2 separate regions of the Homo sapiens genome follow, and region 2 is linked to region 1. Evidence: promoter capture Hi-C in human tissues and cell types (Jung and others, 2019). All regions are on one chromosome and are shown on one strand. Each heading gives the region's core, a stretch centred on a gene start or on the middle of the fragment in contact. The rest is flanking DNA. Distances are from core to core; before and after follow the strand shown.

Region 1 (5,211 bases), core at 872-3,371:
ATCCCCATATTCCTAGTGCTTAGCAAAGAGTCTGTCATAAAGTGGTAGCCCAATAATGCTCATAATGTTAATTATTCAATCACTTTACCTTCAGCTACATTCAACCAGCCAGCTTTATATGCCATGCTTTTACATGCTTTATCTGATTTTCATAACAGTTCTGTTGAGATAGGCCTAATTATGTCTAGTTTTAAGGTGAAGCTTAGTCCCAGAGAGGTGATGTGACTTGCTCAAAGTTCCCCAATCAATAAGATTCTTTTGGATTTTCTTCTCTGTGCAGAGCAGTCTCTGATATGTTTGGGTCTATGTCCCCACCCAAATCTCATCCCCAGTTATAATCCCCATGTATTGAGGAAGGGAAGTGACTGGATTATGGGAACGGTTTCCCCATGCTGTTCTCGTGATCATTCTCACATGATAGTTCTCATGAGATCTGGTGGTTTTATAAATGGTGTTTTCTTCCTGCGCTCTTACTTCTCTTTCCTGTCACCTTGTAAAGAAGGTACTTGCTTCTCCTTTGCCTTCCACCATGACTGTAAGTTTCCAGAGGCCTCTCCAGCCATGCAGAACTGTGAGTCAATTAAACCTCTGTCCTTTATAAATTACCGGTCTCGGGTAGTTCTTTATAGCAGTGTGAAAACGGACGAATACAGTCTCTCACTAAAAGATGGTCCTTGCCCTGAAGATGCTCATGTCAGATTTTCCTGTCCTTTATTGACAACTTGCTCATGCAAGTGACTTTGGAGAGGGAAAACAACTGATCAGGGACAGCCCTGGAATGCCCTGGGCTCAGGAGATGGATCGCTACTAGCCAAGAGATGTCTTGCCTCTAGGAAGTCTCTTCTGTATTACTTGTCAAGAAAAGATTCTCTTGAAATGTTTCCCCTCTACACTTTGATATCCTCAAAACCTTTTTTTTTTTTTTCCAAGACGGAGTTTCACTCTTGTTGCCCAGGCTGGAGTGCAGCGGCATAATCTCAGCGCACTGCAACCTCTGCCCCCTGGGTTCAAGTGATTGTCCTGCCTCAGCCTCCTGAGTAGCTGGGATTACAGGTGTCCACCACCATGCCCAGCTAAATTTTTGCATTTTTCATAGAGACAGGGTTTCACATGTTGGCCAGGCTAGTCTTGAACTGCTGACCTCAGATGATCCACCCACCTCGCCTTCCCAAAGTGCTAGGATTACAGGCATGAGCCACCACAGCCAGCCTCCTCAAAATCTTTTAAACAAATATTTACTGGGTATATAGTATGTATTCAGCAGTGTTCTATGTGCTACGGATACAGTAATCAACAAAACAAAGTCTTTCCCTTGTAGAGCTCATGTTGTAAAGGGGGCAGGAAAATGAATTGAGAAATAGATACATAAGAGGTACTGATACGAAAAAAAGTAGCATAAGGAGGAGAGTTGTGGTGAGGAAGGGGAATCTTGGTTTTTGCCTTAAGAACCTGCCTCCAGCTGGGTGCAGTTCCTTATGCCTATAATCTCAGCACTTTGGGAGGCTGAGGCAGGAGGATCGCTTGACACCAGGAGTTTGAGATCAGCCTGGCCAACATGGCAAAACCCCATCTCTATAAAAAAAATATAAAAATTAGCTGGGCATGGTGGCACATGCCTATAGCCCCAGCTTCTCAGGAGGCTGAGGTGGGAGGATCACTTGAGCTGGGGAGATAGAGGTTGCAGTGAGCCAAGGTTGTGCCACTGCACTCCAGCCTGGGTGACAGAGCCAGACCCTATCTCAAAAAAAGAAAAAGAAAAGAACCTGCTTCCCTTCCTCCTGGTCACATTCTTGTTTCCCCTTTTCAGTCCACAGAGTTGTCTGTCCACAGTTGGGAAATGAGATTTTTCATTAACTTAGTGAAGAAAATACGACAGCATGATGACTGGAAAGGTAAATAGTATACTATGTCAATGAAACAAAACCACGCTTCCAAAAGCAATGTTTTTAGTGCATGTCATGATTAATGTTACACCAAAATGTGTTTTGGTTTCCATAGTGCAGTTCCTCAATCAGAAAGCCAGTTTTTATTCTGCTTATCTCCAGAGCTTTTGTTTGCCTTTTGCTCACCCTAGCCCCGCTAAACCAGATAAAAAGACCAGAGACAGCCTGGTTGAGATTACTCTTGGAGGAAGGCATCAGTTAAGGACACTGGAAAAGACAGGCTCTTTTGTTCTGGTTCCTAATGGAGTGGCTTTGGCTGTTCTTTCTCCATCCTATATCGTTTTACCAGGGGGCTGCATTTCCCTTTGCACTTCTCTTCAATTATCTCTGCATCATGGATTCATTCTCCACTCGTGCCAGGTAGGCTGGATGGCTATTTTTACTCTTACATCCAGAAATACTATAGTGACTGGGTGCGGTGGCTCACGCCCGTAATCCCTGCAATTTGGGAGGCTGAGGCGGGCAGATCACTTGAGGCCAGGGGTTTGAGAACTGCCTGGCCAACATAGCGAAACCCTGTCTCTAATGCAAATACAAAAAAAATTAGCTGGGCATGGTGGCTCATGCCTGTAGTTCCAGCTCCTCGGGAGGGAGGCAGGAGACCTGCTTAAGCCCAGGAGGTGGAGGTTGCAGTGAGCCGAGATGGCGCCATTGCACTCCAGCCTGGGCAACGGAGCAAGCCTCTATCTAAAAAAAAAAAAAATTCAGAAATACTATAGTAGGGCAAAAAGCAGAGTAGACTGCAGATGTGAAGATTACAATATATTAATTACACTTGTTTTTAACTTACTCTCACTGTCACTGATTATTGATATTTGATAATGAATATATATAACAGAGTAAAACTAAACTGGAAATTCACATCCTTCCTGCACTGATGTAAGGTTTGCTGGGTTCAGGTTAAATGGCAGATGAGTGAAAATAAACTCTCAGGAGAGATGGTTGTTGCGATGGTACAGGAATTCTCCAAATGGATACATCTCTGTCAACCATGGATCTCAGATATTCTTGAATAGTCCTAATTTTATGGAATTTTATCATTTTCAATCAAATTAAATTTTATATAAAGTTACATCAGTATAAGTTTTATTATAACTAAATGTGATTTTTAAAGTGCCTTTATATGAATTCTCAGAGAAATGAAATAAGTCAAAATGAATCTTGTTAGATTAGCTATATGATAATTTGAAGTTCAAAAATTATCACTAGAGATGTGATGACTTGATTGTAATGATTTTTTAAATATCAAATAACCTCAACACATTAGAGACAGCACCTATTTTTTTAGATTGCTCATATAAGATTTTATGTTTTTAACATAGTCAAAAGGCAAGAACTTAACTGAACATAGAACAGAAATGGTGAGTGTACTGTTAACATGGCTACATGATTTTCTGTTAAATTGAAAAGTCGCAAATACATTTTTTATTTTATTTATTTTTATATATATATATATATATATATATATATATATATTTTTTTTTTTTTTTTTTTTGAGACGGAGTCTCGCTCTGTCGCCCAGGCTGGAGTGCAGTGGCACGATCTCGGCTCACTGCAACCTCCACCTCCTGGATTCAAGGGATTCTCCTGCCTCAGCCTCCCCAGTACCTGGGACTATAGGTGCACACCACCATGCCCAGCTAATTTGAAATACATTTTTAAAAATAATTCCAATTTTTATTTTAGATTCAAGGGGTACATGTGTAGGTTTGTTACGTGGGTATATTGTATGATGCTGAGGGTTGGGGTATGATTGATCCCATCACCCAGGTAGTGAGCACAGTACCCAAGAGTTAGTTTTTCAACCCTTTTTCCCTGACAGTCCCTATTTTTAACAAGGTTTTGTGGAATGTCCTTTTGTAAAGTGAAAATCTGTTGCCAAAGGGCCACTTCCTAATAATTCACTTATTTTGGGAATTAGGATTTTTATATATTGGGATTCTTAAATAAAATATAGCTGTATCTAACGATCAGTTAGGATTGTGGAATTTGATTAAACAATGGTATGATCAAGTGTTCACAACTGTCTCATGGCCCTTAACTTCACTAATGGAGATTGGAGTTGGGGGACAGCTGTAAAGAAGTTTCCTTTTGAGAAAGATTCTCAAAACAATAAAGCAACATGAGTGCAAAAATAAGGATTAATCCTCATGGAGTTACCTTAGGGTGAAGATTGCTCAGTTTCTGGCTGGATGCAGTGGCTCACACCTGTAATCCCAGTAACTGGGAGGCAGAGGCAAGTGGATAGCTTGAGCCCAGGAGTTTGAGACCTGCCCGGGCAACATGACAAAATCCCTGTCTCTACAAAAAGTACAAAAAATTAGCCAAGTGTGGTGGTACATGCCTGTAGTCCCGGCTACTTAGGAGCCTGAGGCAGGAGGATCCCTTGAGCCCAAGAGGTTGAGGTTGTAGTAAGTCGTGATTATGCCACTGCACTCCAGCCTGGGCAGCAGGGAGAGACTCTGTCAAAAAAATAAAAATAAAATAAAAAAGACTTCTCACTTTGGATTCAGCCTGTTGAGTCTTGACTCCCTCACCTAACTAAGTGTCCTTGTGTATATCAATATACTTCACCCAAATGCCCTCTTCTTATCTGTAGAACAGAAAACATAATGCCTATCTCATGGGGTTATTTTAAGTATTAAATAAATATATTTCTCGTAAAGGGTTATTAGCACTATGCCTAGAATGAAATATGCAATCGCTAAGTCACACATTGCTAAGTCACACATTCTACATTGTCCATGTACAGACAATTTAATGTTTATAAATCTCCTAGGGGAGTTGCCTGTGGGTGGGAGTGTTGCTGTGTAAAGGATAAATGTTCCCCCTTTTGTTTTCCCATAGCAGGGAAGTAAAGGCTTGGACCACAATGTTAACTGGGGTGTTGAGGGGGGAAGTCACCCCAAGCATAGGTTCAAAGAGAAGCACAAGAATGGTCCAGGCTTTTGAGTCATAGATGCTCTCACACTGAGACACTTAACGCTCTCCCCCAAGGAAAAAAGTGGTTCTTGCTAACCTGTACTTGGCACTGTGCCCGGAGCCGTGACACACATTTGCCTTGCAATGGTGTTTCCTGGTTCTGAGCTGGTAGAGAAATCCTAGGCTTCTTTGAGTCGCTTTCCCAGCGAGTCAAAAGGACCAGTGAGTCCTTTTTTCTTTTCTTTTATTTTCGCTTTTCTTTTCTTTCTTTTCTTTTCTTTTTGAAACAGAGTCTCTCTCTGTCACCCAGGCTGGAATGCAGCAGTGCGATCTCAGCTCACTGCAA
Region 2 (5,211 bases), core at 1,933-4,432, 530 kb after region 1:
GGAACCCTGATCAAACCATGCCTGAAGCTTATGCCACTTACAAAGTTTTTAGTAGCCACGAGCTAATCATTTCCTTCAGTATTTAAACCATTTTGAATTGGGTTTTCAGTTATTTGCAAATAAAGCCATCCTAACTGATACATTATTATTTTTATTAGGCAGATGAGAAACTGAAACTTAGGAATTATTTGCTAGAAGTTACAAAGCTAGTAAGTGGCAGAGTTGAGATCTAAAATCTAATCCTTTAGCCACAAGTTTATTGCTTGTTCTATTACACAAGTTGCTGCACCTAATTTACCTTTGTCCCTTCCTACTAGTAGATATGCTTTGCTCCCCCAGGAAAAGAAAATCACTCTAGCCTTAGGGATCCCCCCTTCTAGTCACTGCTAGAAAGGGACTCCCAGCTTTACAATCTACATGTTTTCACACCTCAACTTCTGGCACCATGCTATTTTCCCGACCACAATAATTTTACCAGAAAGGGGCCCCAATCCAGACCCCAAGTGATGTTCCTTGGATCTTGCACAAGAAAGAATTTGGGGCTAGTCCATAAGATGAAAGCAAGTTTATTAGGAAACTAAGGGAGTAAAGAATGAGTAGTCCATAGGCAGAGCAGCCCCAAGGGCTGCTAACTGGCTGTTTTTATGGGTATTTCTTGATCACATGCAAAACAAGGGGTGGATTATTCACGAGTTTTCTGGGAAAGGGGCGGGCAATTACCGGAACTGAGGGTTCCTCCCCTTTTGGACCATATAGGGTAACTTCCGGATGTTTCCATGGCATTTTTAAAGTGTCATGGCACTGGTGAAATTGTCTTGTAACCTGCTAATGCATTATAGTTAGTGTATAATGAGCAGCGAGGATGACCAGAGATAACTTTTCATTGCTATCTTTGTTTTGGCCGGCTTCTTTACCTCATCCTGTTTTATCAGCAGGGTCTTTATGACCTGTATCTTGTGATCTCCTATCTCATCCTGTGACTAAGAATATCTGATTTCCTGAGAATGCAGCCTAGTAGGCCTTCGCCTTATTTTACCCAGTCCCTATTCAAGATGGAGTTGCTCTGGTTCGAACATCTCTGACAATGTCAGCATATCTCTAAAGAGAAATTTCTGTTTTTACTCACTGCTTTTTCTCCAAAGGGTCATAACACGAAGTCCTGTGGGAATAGCACAGATCTTTCCAGTTAGGGGGAGAATGGGGGCTCAGGCCAGCACAGCCAGTGAGGAAGAGCTCCCCAAACACCCCGGGAGCCAGTCTCCGGAGAAAGCTTCAGGAGGTGGGCAGTGGGTAAACAAAAGAGAAAACTCAGAGATAAATGAGAAGGTGCCCCCGTCTTTAGCAAGAAAATATCCAATTCATCAATGTCCAGACACCCCCACCTCCTACAGGGCTGACATCTGAAACAAAATTAAGTAACCAAATACAAGTTCCTTCCTGTCAGTAGAAGGCAATATTATTAGCAAATTAGCAAACACATCCATCAGTGGTAAAAGAAAATCAATGGGTTTTGGAGTTTTAAAAAAACAGGAAAAAGGCTAGAACTAACAGCAGAAAGGTAATACACCCCTTAGAGAGCTTGACGTTTCTTCCATGGAGATTATGGTCCCAGCCAGCTTCACACCCCCACTCCCACTTCCTTACCCAGAAAAGAGGGGACCTCGCCCTCTTTCCAGACACTGCAATGGCTTCCCTCTGCTCCCTGCTTTCAGGAGCTAAGCTTTGGAGTTATTTCTTTGCTTGCACAATGGCTGGCCAAAGCCACAAGCCCCCCGGCCCTAAAGGAAGTCTGTTGGAGACATCTCCTTTGAAGACAGGGAGCAAGGGTCGACCTGGTGATTTTTTCTTCTGGTATTCCCCCTCCATGGCAATGAATGGATATGCAGTCAAGAAAGAGCCTTCAGATGGCTAAGCCGGCAGGAGGGATTGTACAGTTCCCTGCTTTTAGAAAAGTATGTAGGATAAGAAAAGTGACAGCAGAGACCTAACAAGGAATGGCTCCACCCTGCCCCTGAGCTGTGAAGCAGCTGGTGGACCTGGGAAAGCGGCTTGATCTCCCCTCCCCTCTTCTCCTCTCCTCTCTCCTCCCCTCCCATGTCTTTTTCTTTCTTCTTCCCTTCCCTTGCCTTTCCCTCCCTTCCCTTCCCCTTTCCCTTCCCCTTCCCTCCTTCCCTCCTTCCCTCTCCTTCCTTTCTTTCTTTCTTTTTCTTTCTCTCTCCTTCCTTCCTTTCTTCCTTCTCCTTTTCTTTTTTACTTTCTCTTTCTTTCTTTCTTTCTCTTTCTTTCTTTCTGTCTTTCTTTCTTTCTTTCTTTTCCTTCCTTCCTTCCTTTTCTTCTTTCTTTCTTTCTTTAAATCTGGTAAAAGCTACAAACACTATCCTCAAAAAAAAAAAAACACACACACACATTTTCTGAGGATTCACACACACAATGGGGGCTCAAGTACCCTTTGCTTTAAGAAAATTCACCATGCCCTGGAGTCAGACCCACCTGGCACCCTTCTGCACTGAAGTGCAGCTGAGGGCATGAACCTGGCACTTTCCATGAGGGCAGCAGAGGTTGCTTTGAACTAACCAAGGGGGGCTTAAGTCATGGGATGGAGCACAGCCTCCTTCCGACATCTGGAATTTTAATGAGCTTGGATCAGGCCGGCAGACCCAGAGAGCATGCTTTAGGGCCCACAGAAAAGTTTTTTTATAAGCATCTTTGTCCATTGTCCAAGCATTCAGTAGGCACTCAATAAAGATGTTTAAGAATGACCTTATTTTGTTGAAGAGCAGATTCCTTTAGCAATGGACATTGCTAAATGCCTTCGCCTCTAGGGATTTGGGCAATGTACTAAAACCCCCTCCCTCGTTCTACTCAATCATCTTATTTTTGCCTCATGTAAAGCCCAGCTTAACTTTCAGAGGAGCACATGACTATCAGAGGCTGAATGGCCCCCTCCACTTCCGGGGGTGCTGGCATAGGTAGAGTACAGCCAGGCACGCACACATCTCCAGCTGGGTTCACTTGTCTTTCTGGAATCCCATTAGGTCCCAGGGGACAAGTAGAGCGCCTGATACCACTTGCCCTAATCCAACCCTGATCCACCATGTGAGGAGAGAAGAAGGCAAAGACTCACAAGACCCCATCTTCCCCCACCTTCAATACAAGCATTCCCGAGTAATACCCATTTCCAAAGTCAGCCCTCCTTTCCACTTCTCTGCTGTGTTCCAGACACTGACTGCCCCTTTTCTTGGAGCCATGAACAGCACCCAGAAGGAGGCTATTTTTGGTTCCCCTTTAATTAACCTCCTCTCTGCTCAGAACAGGCTTCTCCCTCCCCTGTTACCCAACTCAATCCCCCCTCCAGGAGTTTCTCTTCCTTACAGGGATTAGGAGAGTGTGTGGGGAGCCCATTTTCTAATGGTGTCCTTGGGCATCCAGGAGTAGGGAGAACGTCTAAGGGACAGGTGCAGAAAAAGCTCAAGCACCTTCCCCACTTCTGTCCCCTGTACAGGATGGGCCCCTCATCCCTGGTTCAAGATGTGTCCTCCAGGGTGCAGTGTGCATGACTCATTTCCGGAGTCTCAGTCAAGAGAGCTCTTTTCCCTGCCTCCTTGACAAGCTGGGGACTCTGGGGGATTTTCAGTTTCTTCCCTGGTATAGGTATTGCCACAGCAAGAATTGCACCTGTTCCAACAGGAAGTACTGTTTATGATGATACAAAGCTTAGAGAGATTCGAGAACATCAGAATCTGAAAATAACTCTAGAAGATTCCTCCCTCAATATCTGCATTTGACACATAAGAACACTGAGGTCCAAGGGAGTGAGGAAGGAAAATGCATTTTCTCCATTTGACATCACCATCTACCTGACATTCAAGTGCTTTTCAACTCTAGGCCAAGTCGCTGCACCTAGGTCTTTCCATTTTAAAATATTATATTTTTTATTTTTTGTAGAGACAGGGTCTCACTACATTGCCCACGCTGGGCTCAAGCGATACACCTGCCTTGGCCTCCCAAAGTGCTGGGATTAACAGGTTTGAGCCACCACGCCCAGCCAGTAGCTATTTCCATTTAAGAAATGTCCATACCGAACAAGTTTGCTGGAATGACTGAGGGCATAGATATTGTGTCCAGAGTTGTTTCCTTCCAGTGGGTTCGCGGTCTCGCTGACTTCAGGAATGGAGCCACAGACCTTCAGGGTGAGTGTTACAGCTCTTAAAGGTGGTACGGGCCCAAAAAGTGAGCAGCAGCAAGATTTATTGTGAAGAGCAAAAGAACAAAGCTTCCACACAGTGGAAGGGGACCCAAGCGGGTAGCCGCTGCTGGCTGGGTGTGGCCAGCTTTTATTCCGTTATTTGTCTCCGCCCATGTCCTGCTGATTAGTACATTTTACAGAGTGCTGATTGGTCCATTTTACAAACCTCTAGCTAGACACAGAGCGCTGATTGGTGCATTTTTACAGAGCACTGATTGGCGCATTTTACAAACCTCTAGCTAGCCACAAAGTGCTGATTGGTGCGTTTTACAATCCTAACTACAGAGTGCTGATTGGTGCATTTTATAATCCTCTTGTAAGACAGAAAAGTTCTCCAAGTCCCCACTGGACCCTGGAAGTCCAACTGGCTTCACTTCTCAATAGAATAGTGCAAAAAGTTACCTAGCACAGACAGAAGCCAGGCTCAGAAAGAAGTGAGACTTCTGTCTCCATATCACAGATAATATGTGGTAGACAAAAGCTTATGACAACTGGGGCAATGTTAACAAGGACAGCCAGTTAAGCTAATTCCTCTTCCACATGCTGCGTCTCCAGTGGAGTTTGCCAATCCTGGGCAGTTACTGTGGACGTAGATACTTTTCAAATGGAAAGGACAACTCTTAACATGTGAGTAGGAAATGAATAAACAGGGAAACTAATCCATTCCAACAAGGACGATGCAGCTGGCTGTGGCCTTTGGGCCTTTTAAAATCTCTAGATAAATAAAACTAGTTCTAATGTACCAGTTAAGTATTAAAAACAAGCTTTAAAAAAATTCTTATGATTTAGCTAATAGAACAGTGCAATCAAGAACACAGAAGGCTCTGAGCAGCAGTCTCTTCTTTCAAAGATGGCCCCACCATCACCACGACCACCCAATCAGGAAGCAGGGCACATTTCTCTTTGCTCCGCACAGACAGTTCATCTTTTTCTTCTCACGCTACCCACAAATGTTTGCCTGGCTT

What was found. The method cuts DNA at HindIII sites, captures the fragments that hold promoters and counts their contacts. A contact is called where the count stands out against the background at its distance.
Region 2: a contact is called between a fragment that was not itself captured here and the fragment with the promoter of MBOAT4 in region 1, in 1 of the 25 tissues and cell types used here (spleen).

What each region holds. Positions count from the first base shown.
Region 1 is chr8:30,141,575-30,146,785 of GRCh38, reverse strand. MBOAT4 (membrane bound ghrelin O-acyltransferase MBOAT4) reads left to right here and starts at 2,121. Exons shown (of 3, transcript NM_001100916.2): 1 at 2,121-2,303. The coding sequence starts at 2,185. The HindIII fragment of the contact is 8,892 bases long and covers 1-5,211 here.
Region 2 is chr8:29,613,113-29,618,323 of GRCh38, reverse strand. No RefSeq gene overlaps it. Among named protein-coding and RNA genes, the nearest start is that of LINC02948, 53 kb to the right of the region's middle. The HindIII fragment of the contact is 3,374 bases long and covers 1,496-4,869 here.